Regions from separate parts of the Homo sapiens genome. Here regions 1, 3, 4, 5 and 6 are each linked to region 2. Evidence: promoter capture Hi-C in 16 types of primary human blood cells and fetal thymus (Javierre and others, 2016). All regions are on one chromosome and are shown on one strand. The core of a region is centred on a gene start or on the middle of the fragment in contact, and the rest is flanking DNA. Distances in the headings are between cores, read along the strand shown. Region 1 overlaps EMC3 (ER membrane protein complex subunit 3). Region 2 holds the start of TADA3 (transcriptional adaptor 3). Region 3 overlaps FANCD2 (FA complementation group D2). Region 4 has its middle 14 kb from the start of FANCD2. Region 5 overlaps MTMR14 (myotubularin related protein 14). Region 6 overlaps EMC3 (ER membrane protein complex subunit 3).

What was found. The method cuts DNA at HindIII sites, captures the fragments that hold promoters and counts their contacts. A CHiCAGO score of 5 or more calls a contact.
Region 1: a fragment that was not itself captured here is called in contact with the fragment with the promoter of TADA3 in region 2 in 2 of 17 cell types (neutrophils and monocytes); the score reaches 6.1 in neutrophils.
Region 3: a fragment that was not itself captured here is called in contact with the fragment with the promoter of TADA3 in region 2 in 12 of 17 cell types (monocytes, naive B cells, erythroblasts and 9 more); the score reaches 9.9 in monocytes.
Region 4: a fragment that was not itself captured here is called in contact with the fragment with the promoter of TADA3 in region 2 in 1 of 17 cell types (monocytes); the score reaches 6.4 in monocytes.
Region 5: a fragment that was not itself captured here is called in contact with the fragment with the promoter of TADA3 in region 2 in 1 of 17 cell types (neutrophils); the score reaches 9.0 in neutrophils.
Region 6: a fragment that was not itself captured here is called in contact with the fragment with the promoter of TADA3 in region 2 in 1 of 17 cell types (monocytes); the score reaches 5.7 in monocytes.

The regions. Positions count from the first base shown.
Region 1 is chr3:9,984,085-9,986,831 of GRCh38, reverse strand. It overlaps EMC3 (ER membrane protein complex subunit 3), which reads left to right. Exons shown (of 8, transcript NM_001394674.1): 1 at 1-325. The coding sequence starts at 171. Among named protein-coding and RNA genes, the nearest start is that of EMC3, 1.4 kb to the left of the region's middle. RefSeq lists enhancers at 1-61, 1-173. The HindIII fragment of the contact is 8,045 bases long and covers 1-2,747 here.
Region 2 is chr3:9,791,210-9,793,909 of GRCh38, reverse strand. It overlaps TADA3 (transcriptional adaptor 3), which reads left to right and starts at 1,437. Exons shown (of 9, transcript NM_006354.5): 1 at 1,437-1,694; 2 at 2,417-2,650. The coding sequence starts at 2,444. ARPC4-TTLL3 (ARPC4-TTLL3 readthrough) reads right to left here and starts at 1,362. Exons shown (of 12, transcript NM_001198793.1): 1 at 786-1,362. The coding sequence starts at 788. ARPC4 (actin related protein 2/3 complex subunit 4) reads right to left here and starts at 828. Exons shown (of 6, transcript NM_005718.5): 1 at 786-828. The coding sequence starts at 788. RefSeq lists enhancers at 163-252, 452-978, 953-1,052, 979-1,505, 2,610-2,700 and silencers at 1,183-1,472, 1,533-1,622. The HindIII fragment of the contact is 10,858 bases long and covers 1-2,700 here.
Region 3 is chr3:10,031,197-10,033,896 of GRCh38, reverse strand. It overlaps FANCD2 (FA complementation group D2), which reads right to left. Exons shown (of 44, transcript NM_001018115.3): 3 at 925-1,065. Among named protein-coding and RNA genes, the nearest start is that of FANCD2, 6.1 kb to the right of the region's middle. The HindIII fragment of the contact is 752 bases long and covers 982-1,733 here.
Region 4 is chr3:10,011,080-10,013,779 of GRCh38, reverse strand. It overlaps a transcript of EMC3 not described here and the pseudogene MARK2P2. Among named protein-coding and RNA genes, the nearest start is that of FANCD2, 14 kb to the left of the region's middle. RefSeq lists an enhancer at 2,108-2,633 and a silencer at 2,432-2,661. The HindIII fragment of the contact is 6,602 bases long and covers 1-2,700 here.
Region 5 is chr3:9,660,674-9,663,373 of GRCh38, reverse strand. It overlaps MTMR14 (myotubularin related protein 14), which reads right to left. Exons shown (of 19, transcript NM_001077525.3): 3 at 999-1,107. Among named protein-coding and RNA genes, the nearest start is that of MTMR14, 13 kb to the right of the region's middle. The HindIII fragment of the contact is 2,491 bases long and covers 23-2,513 here.
Region 6 is chr3:9,963,383-9,966,086 of GRCh38, reverse strand. EMC3 (ER membrane protein complex subunit 3) reads left to right here. Exons shown (of 8, transcript NM_001394674.1): 8 at 1,890-2,704. The coding sequence ends at 2,018. Among named protein-coding and RNA genes, the nearest start is that of PRRT3, 12 kb to the right of the region's middle. The HindIII fragment of the contact is 938 bases long and covers 967-1,904 here.

The DNA.
Region 1 (2,747 bases), core at 1-2,500, 190 kb before region 2:
CCAGGCAGCCCAGCTGAAGGCAGTAAGCTCGGCTCACAGTCGCAGGAGAGTTCTGGGGTACACGGGCAAAGGGGCTTGAGAAGGCCCGGAGGCGAAGCCGAAGAGAAGCAACTGTGCCCCGGAGAAGAGAAGCTCGCCCATTCCAGACTGGGAACCAGCTTTCAGTGAAGATGGCAGGGCCAGAACTGTTGCTCGACTCCAACATCCGCCTCTGGGTGGTCCTACCCATCGTTATCATCACTTTCTTCGTAGGCATGATCCGCCACTACGTGTCCATCCTGCTGCAGAGCGACAAGAAGCTCACCCAGGAACAAGTATCTGACAGGTCAGCGCCCTCCCTTCTCCAGCCTACCTCACACCGCCGTGACCTTGGGCAAAAAAGTGCAGGAGTTGTGTCAATTTGCCTAGGTTCACGTCGCGCCCCCTCTGACAGGGTGACCTTACCCGTTACCTCTGTGTTTCACTTTTGTCCTCTGTGAAATGGGGATGATAACAGTACCTGCTTCATAGACAGGTAGGAATCAAATTAGGTGATGTCTGTAAGTCCCTTAGCACAGGATCTAGGACGTATTGAGTGTTGAAAAAAACAGTACTGTTAATCCTTTAGGTTAGTCGCCGACCCTCGGTGGGTTTACCTATGAACTATTCCATCCCACCCTTCCGTTGAGAAGAGTGCCAGGTGCGTTACAGCGTTTAGTCTTTGTAACATCCAGTCAAGTGAGTGTGATAATCTGCATTCTACCAAATTACTGTTCCAGGCGTCGGGCCTGGTGGGACTGTCAGCTGAGATGCCAAGTACCAAAGCGCTTTGCAGTCTGTAAAACTGCCATTAGAGATGTAAGGAATTGTAATTATTTCCCCCCACTAGAGTGGAGGCAACTTCCTCACATATTTCATTGCAGTATTTATTTATTTATCTATTTATTTGCTTATTTTTGAGACGGAGTTTCGCTCTCGTTGCCCAGGCTGGAGTGCGGTGGCGTCATCTCAGCTCACTGCAGTCTACGCCTCCCGGGTTCAAGCGATTCTCTTGCCTCAGCCCCCCGAGTAGCTGGGATTACAGGCCCGCACCACCACACCTGACTAATTTTTGTATTTTTAGTAGAGACAGGGTTTCACCATCTTGGCCAGGCTGTTCTCGAACTCGACCTCAGGTGATCCACCTGCCTTGGCCTCCCAAAGTGCTGGGATTACAGGTGTGAGCCATGGCAACCAGCCCCTCGTTGCAATATTTATATACAGATAAAGGAATTTGAGATGATTATAGGTGGTTATCTAGACATGTAGCCCCTCATATTAAAGTAATAGTTTTCTCCCAGCAACTTGGGATGCTGAGGCAGGAGGATTGTGGGAGACCAGCCTGGGCAACATAACGAGACCTTGTCTCTTAGAAAAACAAGCAATTTTCAGTCAGTTCTGATTACTTTCAGAAATCATCTCAGGTAAGTGCTACTATATCTTTAGCACCTCTCTCTCACATTAATTTCTCGTTTTAATAAAGAGAGTAAGCCTCAGGCTAAGAACTTTTCACAGGTAACAGTGTCTAGTTAAAATTTAATAATGTTGTTTTGTTTCTACTGTACTTAAGTTACTTTCTTTTTTGTGACAATACTGGATTTCCATTTGCTGGTAATTTAAAGATTCCTTTAAAATCATATAGATGGGAAAAAAGTTGATATATAAAAAGTATTAAATATGTAATGATACAAGCGTTGGACAAAAATTCTAACATGGCATGAGAGTGACTGAAGTTTAGGAAGCACTACTGTAACATTTTCAGTTAGTTCTTCCCAATTATGCCAAGAAGAATAATAACCATTTACTCTATATCAGGTACTATGTGAAGTACTTACATTCATTAACTTATTTAAAACTTCAAAGCAACTCTATGAGGTACATATTGTCTCATTTTATAGAAACAGAGGCTTTAACAAGTTCCATCCCACCCGTTCGTTGAGAAGAGTGCCAGGTGCGTTACAGCGTCACACAGGGTGACATTTAGGACTTCACACCAAGCCTTCTGGGTATTGGGCTTTTTCCACTATACTACAGCGATCACTTTATCTTTCTGTAGCATTAGTTTCAGAACTGACCAGAGCCAGCACCCCACCCTGGAGCGAACCTTAAGAAGTCAGCTTACTGGCCGGGCATGGTGGCTCATGCCTGTACTCCCAGCACTTTGGGAGGCCGAGGCGGACGGATCACGAGGTCAGGAGATCGAGACCATCCTGGCTAACATGGTGAAACCCCGTCTCTACTAAAAATACAAAAAATTAGCTGAGCGTGGTATGCTGGGCGCCTGTAGTCCCAGCTACTCGGGAGGCTGAGGCAGTGGAATTGCTTGAACCCAGGAGGCGGAGCTTGCAGTGAGCCAAGATCGCGCCACTGCACTTCAACCTGGGTGACAGAGCAAGACTCTGTCTCAAAAAAACAGAAAAGAAGTCAACTTACTGGCCGGGTGTGGTGGCTTACGCCTGTAATCCCAACACTTTGAGAGGCCGAGGCAGGCAGATCATGAGGTCAAGAGATTGAGACCATCCTGGCCAACATGGTGAAACCCCATCTCTACTAAAAATACAAAAATTAGCTGGGCGTGATGGCACGTGCCTGTAGTCCCAGCTACTCGGGAGGCTGAGGCAGGAGAATCGCTTGAATCCGGGAGGCAGAGGTTGCGGTGAGCCGAGATCATGCCACTGCACTCCAGCCTGGCGACAGAGCGAGACTCCATCTCATTTAAAAAAAAAAAA
Region 2 (2,700 bases), core at 188-2,687:
AGAAGCCAGATTAGGAGTCATCAGAATGAAGAAAGTTATCGAAGCCAGGAGACTAGATCGGTATCACCAGGGAAGGTGTGACGAAGAGGGAGATGGTCATCCAAAGTCACAACTCCCAGGAATGCCCACACGTATGAAAAAGGCCCACATGTATGAAAAAGGCCCACATGTATGAAAAAGGGAGGACTTCCAGGAAGGGAGGGATGAGCAGTATCACAGCTAACATACACTAAGGCTGACACAGTTCAGTTCTGACCAGGAAGGGCCTGAATGGAAGCAACACGAGAGATCCTCCAATGGGGTGGAAGCAGGGCTGGAGGTACCAAGAATGGGATAAGGAAGTGTGGCCGCCTGCCTTAAGCAACTGTAGGGTCAGGAAGGCAGAAGAGGACAAAGGGCGTATGTCGTGAAGTTCCACTGTGGATAGGCAGGTGGACTTGCTTCATGCCTCAGAGGCTAAGAGGCCGACTACGTACCCTCGAAATGCTCCAAAGAGCCTAGGAGACCCCACTTCCGGGTTCCTACAGGGCTCAGGAAAAGCCCCTACCTGCTTCGAAGGCTGACCGTGAAGCCACAAGGCCCACTTCATACCAGGGAGTACCCCCACTCGCCCCTTCCTCACCTCGGGCCCCCGCCCCGTCTCTTTTTCCCACCCTCATCGTGTCCCCACAACCCCCGGACATCCCTCGGCCCCGCGCCCCTGCGGCAAAGCCACATCTCCCACCGACCCACTGCCCTGAGGCCGAACAGCCGGGGGTCCCTGGCCGGGGGCCCGGCTCTCTCACCATCGCGGGCGCTGGCTGGGCCGGAAAGCGGAAGTACGGAAGTGGCCAGCCCCGCGATGCCTGCCCTTTCGCGAGAAGCGCAGCTACGGTCTCCGCCCGGACTTCCGGACGGTACCATCTATGCTCCGAGCGGGGTAGAGAGCCCTTACGAACGCTTGGGCCTTCCGGAAGTTTTCCACCTAGGGCTGTCTCGGTATTTTTAAATTCTTGCACTCGAGTCACTATTTAAGCTCCTCCAGGAATGGGTGCAGCTTCCCTTTGTGCCTTCGGCCTTCTTGTCACCTTTGCCACAGCCTCCCCCAGGTATGCAATGGTACAGCCCAGCTTCAGATTGGGCACCAAATTAGGACAAGCCGAAGCGGACGAGCCCTTCGTTTCTTCCGGTTCTGTACCCCCATCCTTTCTCTCGCCCCTCCTACCCGCAGCTCCTGGCGCTCGGCGGGGCTAACTGCAGCGCGGAGATCTCGGCCGCCAAGCTCCGCCTCCCGCCCCGGGCTGTGCCCCGGGGCTCGCCTGAGGCCGACCACCCGCACCCCACCTCTAGCGGCTTTGCTCGAGGCCCACCTTCTTCCCACCCCCGGCAAACTCCAGTAGGCTCGCCCTCGCTGACTCCCCGCCCCCGCGTCAACTGCAAGGGGCCCGCCCATAGCCAGTTCCGGGGCGGTTGCTCACATCGACCGGAACTCCCCGCCCCCTCCCGCGGCCCCTGGGGCCGTAGGAGGCCGCAGCGAGGAGGTAGAGGGGGCGGGGGTCGCACTAGGGTGTCCCTAGAGAACGAGGACTCTGAAGGCGGGACATTTGGGCGACCCCCGGGCGGGGCCAGCCATTAAACAGTCCCACTTCTGTGCCAGACACTGAACTGGGCTCTTGACGGGCATCATCTCTTAATCCTCAGAACATCCCAGGGAGGTAGGTACTATTGTTATCCCCATTTTTCAGATTCAGACTTTTAATGGGGAAACAGACCGAGACTTCTTTTGTCCCCATTTTACAGATGGAAAAACTGAGACTGAAAAAGGTCAAATAACATGTTCAGGGGCATATAAGTAGAGAATGGTAAAGCCTGGGCTTGAACCCAGGTCTGTCTGGCTTACCAGCCCACGTTCTAAACCACTGTTAGTGACTAGAGAAGGGAGAAAGGTGGAATAGGGTAAGAAAAGAGGCCAAGAGTCCCAGAGAACATGGTAAGAATGGGGTGCTTGGAACTCAAAGTCTTAGCAGAACCCAAGAGAAATAGAAGGGAAGGAAAGAGCATCAGAAAGGCGAGGCAAGGCATAGCAGTATAGCATGGTGATCAGGGTGCAGACTCAAGACTAGCGGGGTTCAAATTGCATCTTGGAAGCATAGGCACATACCCACCCTTACAGAGTCTCAGTTTCTTTCTCTGTAAAAACGAGATCACAATGGTCCTTGTTCATGGTGCTGAGTGAGAAATTCAGTGAGATAAACTGATAAAGTGCTCTGCACCTAGCTTGGTACCCAGTTAAGTGCCCTGTGAGTAGGAACTGTGCCATCAATTTTGTCAGTAAGGGACTGAAGCTGGGCTTCCTTGAGGCTGTCCCTGGAGGTAAGAAGCCCTTGGGCTTTTCTCAGACCACTTTGTCTCCCATCAATGGCCCTGTCCTCTCCAGCTCCACAGGATCCCCATATCCTGGGCCATGAGTGAGTTGAAAGACTGCCCCTTGCAGTTCCACGACTTCAAGTCTGTGGATCACCTGAAGGTCTGTCCCCGCTACACGGCAGTGCTGGCACGCTCTGAGGATGATGGCATCGGCATCGAGGAGCTGGACACCCTGCAGCTGGAGCTGGAGACCCTGCTGTCTTCTGCCAGCCGGCGCCTGCGTGTGCTTGAGGCCGAAACCCAGGTGATAACCCCAGAGAGGGGCCAGCACCAGAGATGGACTGCAACAAGTTA
Region 3 (2,700 bases), core at 108-2,607, 240 kb before region 2:
TGAAACTCCGTCTCTACTAAAAATACAAAAAATTAGTCAGGCATGGTGGCGGGCGCCTGTAGTCCCAGCTACTTGGGAAGCTGAGGCAGAATGGTGTGAACCTGGGAGGTGGAGCTTGCAGTGAGCAGAGATCGCGCCACTGCACTCCAGCCTGGGCGACAGAGCAAGACTCCGTCTCAAAAAAAAAAAAAAAAAAAAGACTTAGCTTTGATAGCAGATAGCCACTAAGTGTTCTAAAAAAGACCTGCCATAACCTTAGCAAGATAGAATAATCTGCTCCCCCAAAACAGAATCTTATATGGCTTTATAAATTTTCTTCTGAAATTATTCTGACACTGATACAGCTGCTTTCTGGATATTTATTTTTTCATAAGAAAACACAAAATAAATAATATATAATATTTTTTCTAATAAAAGGATGAGAAATGCTTTACTTAAGACATAGTAATGAGGACCAAAGACTGTACCATTTTCTTTTTCCATTTTTGTTTTTTGGAAATGGAGTCTCACTCTTGTCGCCCAGGCTGGAGTGCAGTGGTGCGATCTTGACTCACTGCAACTTTCACCTCCCGGGTTCAAGCAATTCTCCTGACTCAGGCGCCCAAGCAGCTGGGACTACAGGCACATGCCACCATGCCCGGCTAATTTTTTATATTTTAGTAGAGACGTGTTGCCCAGGCCGGTCGCAAATTCCTGAGCTCAGGCAATCCGCCTGCCTCGAGCCTCCCAAAGTGCTGGGATGATAAACGTGAGCCACCGCGCCCGGCCTGACTGTACCATTTTCTAAAAAGCAATTTCAACTTTGTCTCAAGATGGATGGCCCTCTGATTTCTAATCTTCATTGCCTCTCTATTTAGAAAACCCATGATTCAGTCCTGAACTATTTCATTAAACCCAGAGAATAAAATTAGATTAAAATATTACCTAGTTGATTCTGACTCTCTCCCGTTTTAAGAATAATTCCTGATATCTTAAGAAGCTTTACAAAGATGCTGTCATTTTCTTCAACTTCATTAGCAATATGAGATTTCTTTGTCTTTTTGGAAAGTGGTTGCTTCCTGGTTTCTGAAAATAGAAAAATTTTCAAGAATATGGCAAATAGTAAAGGAAAAATTAAAACTTAAACCCAGGAATAATAATCATGAGAGGAAAACTGATGTGTCCTTAAAAATTATACTAGGATTGATGCTGTAGTGAAATAAACTGTCTTCAGCAATAGTGGCTTCCAAAACAAACAAATAGAATTATTTTCACCTATTTTCATTTGAAGAATTCAAAATGTGCCATTTCTGGCCAGGCAAGGTGGCTCATGTGGTAATCCCAGCAAATTAGGAGGCCAAGGCAGGAGGATCACTTGAAGCCAGGAGTTCAAGACCAGCCTGGGCAACAAAGTGAGACCACCCCCCCATCTCCCCCCCTTCACCCCCATTCCCCCCCTCCACACACAAACTAGTTAGGTGAGGAGACGCACACCTGTAGTCCCAGCTACTTCGGAGGCTAAGGCGGAAGAATAACTTGAGCCCAGGAGGTTGAGGCTATAGTGAGCTATGATATTACCACTGCACTCCAGCCTGGGTGACAGAGTGAAATCCCCATCTCTAAAAAAATAAATTCAAACAAATAAGTGCCTAACAAGAATAACCCACAGAAATGTTTTCCACCCAAATACTAAACTAGCCAGTGTCTCTCAAGCTGTTGCCTGCAAACCACTGTACTGGAATCCCTGGGAAGCTTATTAAAATGCATATTTCCGACCCAGCACAGTGGCTCACGCCTGTAATCCCAGCACTTTGGGAGGCCGAGGCAGGCTGATTACCTGAGGTCAGGAGTTCAAGACCAGCCTGGCTAACGTGGTGAAACCCCATCTCTACTAAAAATACAAAATTAACTGGGTGTGGTGGCGTGCGCCTGTAATACCAACTACTCGGGAGGCTGAGGAGGAGAATCACTTGAACCCGGGAGGCAGAGGTTGCAGTGAGCCCAGATCGCGCCACTTCACTCCTGCCTGAGCAACAGAGTGACACTCTGTCTCAAAGGAAAAAAAAGGCATATTCCATGCCATATACCAGAGTTACTGAGTCAAAATCTTGGGAATGGGACCTAGGAATCCGAATTTTTTATGTTCTTCAGATAATAATCCTGATACACACCAAATTTGAGACTCAATGATCTGAATAAAGGGTAGACAGAATGGGGAAGGTTCTTTGTATCATATCTTTGACTACAATGCTCAGATAGGTTTAATCCCAAGACTTTCAACCCATAAAAAGAAATAAGAAACAAGAAACAAACAGGTACTTGAAGCCAAGTTTAAAATTTACTCTTCTCCCTTAATGATGCCATTTTGTTTTTTCCTTCTTCAATTCCTCTCCCTCTTTCTTTTTTTTTTTTTTTTGAAATGGAGTCTTGCTCTGTCGCCCAGGCTGGAGTGCAGTGGCGCGATCTTGGCTCACTGCAAGCTCCGCCTCCCGGGTTCATGCCATTCTCCTGCCTCAGCCTCCCAGTAGCTGGGACTACAGGTGCACACCACCACGCCCGGCTAATTTTTTGTATTTTTAGTAGAGACGGGGTTTCACCATGTTAGCCAAGATGGTCTCAATCTCCTGACCTCGTGATCTGCCCGCCTTGGCCACCCAAAGTGCTGGGATTACAGGCGTGAGCCACCGTGCCTGGCCTCCTTTCCCTCTTTCTAATAAAGCC
Region 4 (2,700 bases), core at 201-2,700, 220 kb before region 2:
CAAGATTGTGCCACTGCACTCCAGCCTGGGCGACAGAGCGAGACTCTGCCTCAAAAAAAAAAAAAAAAAGAGACAGAATAAATAGTAAATAGTAAAATGCAAGAAGTGAGGCTTCACCACCCCACCTAGCTGATTTTTGTCTTCATCTGTGCAACTATGTTGGAGCAATCTTATTCCTCCTTTTCTTCGGTGGACACATGCAGCAAAATCTTAATAGAAGTGAAAGATGCGTCCTCCGGCAGCCCTGTGGCAGCCCCAGTTTCTTTTCTTTTCTTTTTTTTTTTTTTTTTTTTTGAGACGGAGTCTCACTCTGTCCCCCAGGCTGGAGTGCAGTGGCACAATCTCGGCTCACTGCAAACTCCACCTCCCAGGTTCACGCCACTCTCCTGCCTCAGCCTTCTGAGTAGCTGGGACTATAGGTGCCCGCCACCAAGCCTGGCTAATTTTTTGTATTTTTAGTAGAGATGGAGTTTCACCATGTTAGCCAGGATGGTCTCGATTTCCTGACCTCGTGATCCTCCCGCCTTGGCCTCCCAAAGTGCTGGGATTACAGGCATGAGCCACTGCGTCCGGCTGCGGCAGCCCCAGTTTCTTGTTGGCTAGGCTGATGTCACAGCCTCAGGCTGTCCAGCTTGGACAACACTGGCTTCCTGTGATGATTGTCGCTGGGCAAGGGACGTTTCTGGGTCTCTGCCACTGCTGCTGGTGGTGTGGGTGGAGGTAGAGGCCACAGCGTCACGCTGGGGGGCTTTGCCAAAACTGTCCGGCTTCCTCTGCAGGCTGGCAGGGGCACTGGCAGGAACAGTGGTCTTCTGCTGAATGCTGAATATGGGACAAGCTGGCTCGCTGTGAGCCTGCTTCAGTGGGAGAGAGAAGGTGGAAACTTCAGTGGATAGAGAAGGACAGGTGGGAACCCCAGGAGGAAGGGACCATGGTCTGATGGTGGACTGCTTCTTTTGTTTGTTCTAAAATGAGGTAGGTGGCCATAGGATAGTGAAACGCTTTTTCTTTGATTGGCACAGAGATGTTCTTGGCCTGGAATCCCATGGCCACCATGAGCTGGGTGGTATGTTGGCTCATGGCTCTTTGTATGTTGTCCGTGGCATCTCCTAACCACAGTTCACCCACCAGTCCCTCAAAACTTCTTTCAGTGGGGGCCACTCCCTGGGTTCTAGTGTTAGTAACTTTTGAATGAATCTTTCAAGTTGAAGGGAAAAAAAATGGTGAGGCGTGGTAGCTTCCTGTGAAAATTTGATTCTTGAGGTCCATCGTGTTCCCTGAATAGAAGGGTAGGGCCCCGGCCACCATATGGTAGAGTATGACGCCAAGGCCCCATATGTCCATGGCAGGGCACTGGTACCCCCAGCCCAGGAAGAGTTCTGAGCAGGAATGGTGGTCTTCTGCCTTCACTTCTCGCCGTCCTTGGGCAGTCAAAAATTAAAAGTGGGAACAGCTGGCTCCCTTTGAGCCCTCTTTGGTTCCACAAGGAAGGCAGACTTTGTCAGATGGGGAAGAACAGGTGGGACCCCCAGGAGGAAGGGCTGTGCTCCAATGATGGAGCGCTTCCTCCTCTGTACTTTTCTCTACCCCAGGATTAGGTACGTGGCCATGGGATAATCACATATGTATTTTTTGTTGGGGAGAATATTGATTCCGAGATGTGTGCTGCTTGGAATCCCATGGCCACCATTACCAGGGTTGTAGGGGGCATAGGTGTCCAGGGTCTCTGTATGGTGTCAGCAGTGTCTTCTGGCCAGCATTGACCCAGGGGTCCCACGTCAGCTGGTTTAGTGGGGGCCACTCCCTGGGGTCGAGGCTGAGGAATTGTTTTACTAGTGTTTCCAGTGGAAACGAAGAAATAGGTGGGCAGTCATACTGTCACATAGCCTGAGGCAGGAAGGGACCACGGGTGGGGCTGGATGTTTTTCAGCCTCCCTGGCAGAGATCACTGACAGAGTGGTCAGCTTGGCCAAGTTTCTGCGGTGGCTGGCAGAAGAGGGAGAGGGAGGCAGTCCCCAGAGCAGGAATGCCTTCCCTTGCAGGGGAAAAACCGGCCATCCTCCCCTCAGAGCCTCCTTCACTGCAGCCCGTGGGAAGTGAGTGACCTGGGGGATCCGTGCCCCAGGGGCTAACCTCTGGGCTCTGGCTTAGCCCCACCCCGGGGAAACATTCACAGCCCCTCCTGAAGAGAGCCTTGCTGCAGGAAGACTCTGGCGGCGGGTGTGGGGGGGTGGTGCCCAGCTGGGAGAGTTCTGGGCTGTTGGTGGCAGTACCCCAGGCTCCAAACTCTCTGGGCCTGGGGGCAATTCCCTTCCCTGAGTACAACAGATTCCCACCCCGCCCTGCCCTACTGCCCGCCCCGCAGGGAAGTGGCCCAGGAGAGGAGGCGTGGACAGGTATCCCAGTGACTCCAGTCGGAGTCAGCTTGGGTAGCATGGCCCGCGGAAGACAGACCGGGCGAACGGGGCGGGCCCCAGGCTACCGAGCTGCAGCTGACAGGCAGTCCGGCGGCGTCGGGTCTCCATGGATACGGGGGTGGGGCCAGGCGGCGGCGAGCGGCGGCGGGCGGGGCTTTTAACGGCCATCGGCCCCTCCCAGCCTGGACAAAGACACAGAGCGCGGCCTGGGAGGCGGAGCTCTGCGGGCGGCCGGGGCCGCCTCCTTCCAGGCGCTGCTGCCCCAACACAGGCGGGCACTCTC
Region 5 (2,700 bases), core at 19-2,518, 130 kb after region 2:
AACTGATCTGAAGAAGAAAGCTTTTGGCAGAGTCTCCCTTCCTTCCTCCTCTTTCCCAATTTACAAAAAAGGCACACCAGGGACTGAGACAACAGTCAGACTCTCCCCATTGCCCTGCCCTTGACCACTGAGACACTCAGATACCAGCTAAAGGAATGAATAGACTGAATTCCGCTCCCTTCCCCTCTGAGGCTCTCTGTATGTCAGTCCACTCTTCTTGGACCAATTTTCGCACCGTTGCTACTTGCATTCGGAATTTCCCCGCTCAAACGTCACAATGGCTCTCCTAGCAAACACAGAGCCACCTCCCTGCTCAGCGTTCAGCCGTCTTCATTCAATCCCCTCCATCCTCTGCCCTGATGTGTACCCTCTACTTAGGGAAGTTACTTAGTCACTCTCAGCCTCTGTTTCATCTGCAATGAAATGGGCACATCCCGTACACCAAAAGATAGATAAAAATGAAACCAAACTGGGGAGCCAAATTAAATTAACAAAAGTCCTTAGAATATAAGCTCCATGACAATAAAGATTTTTGTCTGCTTTACATGGTGATGTATTTTAAGGCCTGAAGCAGTGTCTGGCACATAATATACAATAAATACTTGGTGAATTATATAATTGAAAGAATGGAAAAACAATATAGGAACTCATTTGATTTAATCTAATCCACAAACCTTTGAAATAGGTGATTATTATTCTTAATTTATAGGAGAGGAAAAGGAGGCTCTGCATAGGCAGGAAATAAGAGTCAGGATCTGAACCTAGGCAGTCTGGCTCTGGAACACGGGGTGGGGTATGCTGGTGTGACCATCCCTTCTCTACCTAGAACCATCCTTCAGTCAGAATTGGTCTGTTTCTCTGGACTGCTTCCCACAACACCCAGTAACCACCCAATGCTTGGCTACTAATGTTGAGGGAAAAAAAGACCCTATACTTTGCAGTAAGTCAGCTACCCCAGAAGAGAGTCGTGGAGCATGAAGCTATGGTATGGGCCTTACCTTGCCCTTGAACAGGATTACTGGGCAGACAAACCGTCCTCTGCACCGGGCCATCTTGCTGCGGTGGATGAGGTCTTGCAACTTGCTCACCTGTACGGTACTCTCAAACCTAACACACAGGCAAGAGAAGCAGGTCAAGCTGACTTTGAAGTGGGCACTTTGTGTATATGTGTTTATTCACACAGACCCCCATACTAGATCTGTGTACATAATGCTTGCTTGAAATTAAATGTCATTCCTAAATTTTATATCATCTATCATCTGTCTGTCTATCTATCTATTTTTTTGAGACGGAGTTTCACTGTTGTTGCCCAGGCTAGAGTGCAGTGGCGCAATCTTGGCTCACCACAGCCTCTGCCTCCCGGGTTCAAGCAATTCTCCTGTCTCAGCCTCCCGAGTATGCTGTGACTACAGGTGTGAGCCACCACACCTGGGTAATTTTTTTATTTTTGGTAGAGACGGGGTTTCACCACGTTGGCCAGGCTGGCCTCAAACTCCTGACCTCAGGCGATCCGCCCACCTCGGCCTCCCAAAGTGCCGGGATCACAGGCATGAGATATATTAAGTTTTTCAGGAAAAAAAAAAAGTGCTAATTATAGGTATTAAAACTTAAATCACTCTGATTTCTGAACCTTTAAGATAAAAAAAAAGTGAGCTAAACTGAAGACATATACAAAATTCAGAAATATACACAGAAAACTGGATATTATGTCTAGGGTGTCCAATTTTTAACTCCCAGGATAAGACCTGGTGCCCTAGGGACCCTCTCTGGAAATCACAGGACCATTTTTGTGACTATCTATTTTTTGCATAACTCTGAATATGTATTTTTGTGATCTTTTAGAGCAAGCAGTCCCCAGGCCCTGAGCCCCAGATCAGTACGAGTCCATGCCCCATTAGGAACCAGGAGGTGAGCAGCAGGCAAGTGAGCATTACCGTCTGACTTCCACCTCCTGTCAGATCATCAGTGGCGGCATTATATTCTCATAGGAGCTCGAACCCTATTGTGAACTCCGCATGTGAGGGACTGGGGTTGCAGAGAATCTAATGCCTCATGATCTGAGGTGGAACAGTTTCATCTGAAACCATTTTCTCCACCCTGCCGTGGAAAAATTGTTTTCCATGAAACCAGTCCCTGGTGCCAAAAAGGTTGGGGAGTGCTGTTTTAGAGGGCAGAATGAGATGACGTTTCTTGGTCCACATGGCTCTAGGCCTCTGCTTTCACAGTCCATATGGCCAACAGCGCACAGAGCAAAGGAGGCATAAGAGAAGCCATGTGTGACACAGGGACGTGTAGTAGTTAATGCACTGGGCTTGGTAAGTGAGCTTCTAGAACTTGAGAGTGAGGTTTAGAAGTTAGCTCCAGCAAGTCATACCCATATCAAATCACGCTTCCCTAAAATAAGGGTCCGCTCTCATAAACTCACCTACCAACCTTTAGCAAAGCTCACCCCAGCCAGTCAGAGCTTCTGGTAGCAACAGAAACAGGAGGCAGGAAAGTTAGAGCAGGAAGCTTTCCCAGCTACACAGAGTAACCAAGTAGAAGGAAGGAAAAATACTCATGTTCCTTCCTTAAAAGTGTTGAGCTTTCAGACCAACTCCTAGAGGGAATTTAATTGCTTCCACATCCTAATCCTTCTAGGAATCTGCGTACAGCTCCTCTTGTACACATGCACCCAAATATTATCCCAGAAGGAAGAAA
Region 6 (2,704 bases), core at 186-2,685, 170 kb before region 2:
GCCTTTCCTCAAACAGTTAAAACATAGTTACTATATGATCCAGTAATTTCACTCTTAAGTAAATACTCAAGAGAACTGAAAATGTATGTCCACACAGAAACTTATGTGAGAATGTGTTCAGAGCATGATTCATAATAATCAAAAAGTAGACATAACCCAAATGTCCATCATCTAATGAATGAATAAACAATGGAATATTTTGGAATATAATGTACATTGTATGTACAGTAGAATATATACAATGGAGTGTTATTCAGCTATAAATAAGAGTGGAATACTGAATCATGTTAAACAGGGAAGAACCTTGAAAACATGCTAAGTGAAAGAAAATAACAAAAGGCCACATATGCCCAGAATAAGTGAAAAAAAGATACGGAAGATAACGTAGTAGTTGCCAGAGGTTGTGGGAGGTGAATAATGGGAGCTGTCTACTGTTTGGTATGTGGTTTCTTTTTGTTATGATAAAAGTGTTCTGCAATTAGATAGTGGTGGTGGTTGCACATATGAATATACTAAAAATCACTAAATTATACACATTAAAGGGGTAAATTGTATGACATGTAAATTATATCTGAAAAACTCACTCATGAGCTAACATTTGTATTTCACATTAAATAAGCTTGTTCTATCTATCTATCTATCTATCTATCTATCTATCTATCTATCTATCGAGGGTCTCACTGTGTCACCCAGGCTGGAGTGCAGTGGTACAATCCTTGCTCACTGCAGCCTCGAACTCCTGGACTTAAGCATTCCTCCCACCTCAGCCTCAGTACTGGTACACGAGAAGCCAGTACTACAGGCACACACCACCACACCCAACTAATTTTTTTTTAAATTTGTATAGAGATGGGATCTCGCTGTGTTGCCCAGGCTGGTCTTGAACTCCCATCCTCAAGTGATCCTCCTGCCTTGGCCTCCCAAAGTGCTAGGATTACAGGTGTGAGCTACCACATCTCGCAAGCTTTTTTTTTTTTTTTTTAATTTATTTTTAAAGACGAGGTATTACTATCTCTAGGCTCATCTAAAGATAGGTTGTCCAGGGCAGTCCCAAACTCCTGGGCTCAAGCTATCCTTAGCCTCAGCCTCCAGAGTAGCTGGGACTGTAGATGCATGCCACTGCACCCAACTCATAAAGCATTTTTTAGACACTCACTAATTTAAGGCAAAGTAGTCAGATTAATAGAATATTTGAGAAATGTAATTTCTTGGAAAATTCTGCAAATTTATTTCTGCTCAACATATTACTAGTTTACATCTAAATGATTATATGCCAAAAACAGTTTTTTAGTTCACATCATCAAAGTCTTTATTCCAGTGATTAAAAATTACTGGACTCCCACAAACTGTAATGAAGTGCCATTGTGTGTCTGGACATAAGGTTGGAGGAAGTGTTCTTAGGCCCACTGAAGATACCCTGGGCCATTTATGTCAAAGCATTGTGGACCATGCACCATTTAAACCAGATGGCAAGTCCCTTGATTAAAGAGCTGAGAATCTGCACTAATTTGTCTGTTGTACATCTCTCAAGAGTACTGTGGGGCACAAAGGTGCTTAGTGAGTGTGAGCTGATAGACGGGTTAAGCGCTGGGGACTTTGCAGTCAGACCACAATTTAAATCTCAGCTCCATTAGTTCCTAGTGCCAGTGGCCTTGAACAAATTATTTGACCTCTTAGTCTTAGTCTCCTTATCTATAAATTGAGGGGTGGCAGGAAGAGGGGGAGGAGAGGATTGGGGTAGCAGCATTTCCCTTGTAGGATTGAATGAGCTTATACATGCAGATAGCTCACTCCAGCTTTTGGCCCAGAGTAAGTGGTCACTAAAGGTTAGCCACAGCTGTCAGTAACAATTCCCTCTCTTCCTGCCTGGGTGTTCTCTTCCATTACAGACAGAGTGGGAAGCTTTGGAGCTGACGGATCACCAGTGGGCACTAGATGATGTCGAAGAAGAGCTCATGGCCAAAGACCTCCACTTCGAAGGCATGTTCAAAAAGGAATTACAGACCTCTATTTTTTGAAGACCGAGCAGGGATTAGCTGTGTCAGGAACTTGGAGTTGCACTTAACCTTGTAACTTTGTTTGGAGCTGGCACCTCTTGAAATAAAAAGGAGGATGCACGAGCTGGCAGGCATGCAGCAAGGCTTGTTCTTGTCTGGGCTGGGTTCCCCTTTATGTTTGAAACTAGAGGAAATAGGAGTATGCTGGGCAACTTGTTATTTTTAAAATGTTGTAAATGTTCCTTCTGGTGACTCTAGTAATGAAAGTCAGAGAAAGGGGGAAACCTCAGGCTACTGATAATATATAAAATCTTGGCCAGGCGCAGTGGCTCACGCCTGTAATCCCAGGATTTTGGGAGGCTGAGGCGGGTGGGTCACGAGATCAGGAGTTCAAGATCAGCCTGGCCAAGATGGTGAAACCCCATCTCTACTAAAAATACAAAAAAAAATTAGCCGGGCGTGGTGGTGGGCACCTGTAATCCCAGCTACTTGGGAGGCTGAGGCAGAGAACTGCTTAAACCTAGGAGGCGGAGGATGCAGTGAGCTGACATCGTGCCACTGCGCTCCAGCCTGGGCGACAGAGCAAAACTCCATCTGAAAAAAAAAAAAAAATATATATATATATATATATATATCTATCTTAGCAGAAGCCCAGTCTTCGAAGGAAGCATTGTTAATTATAGCTAATGATTATGTGCAGTCAGCCT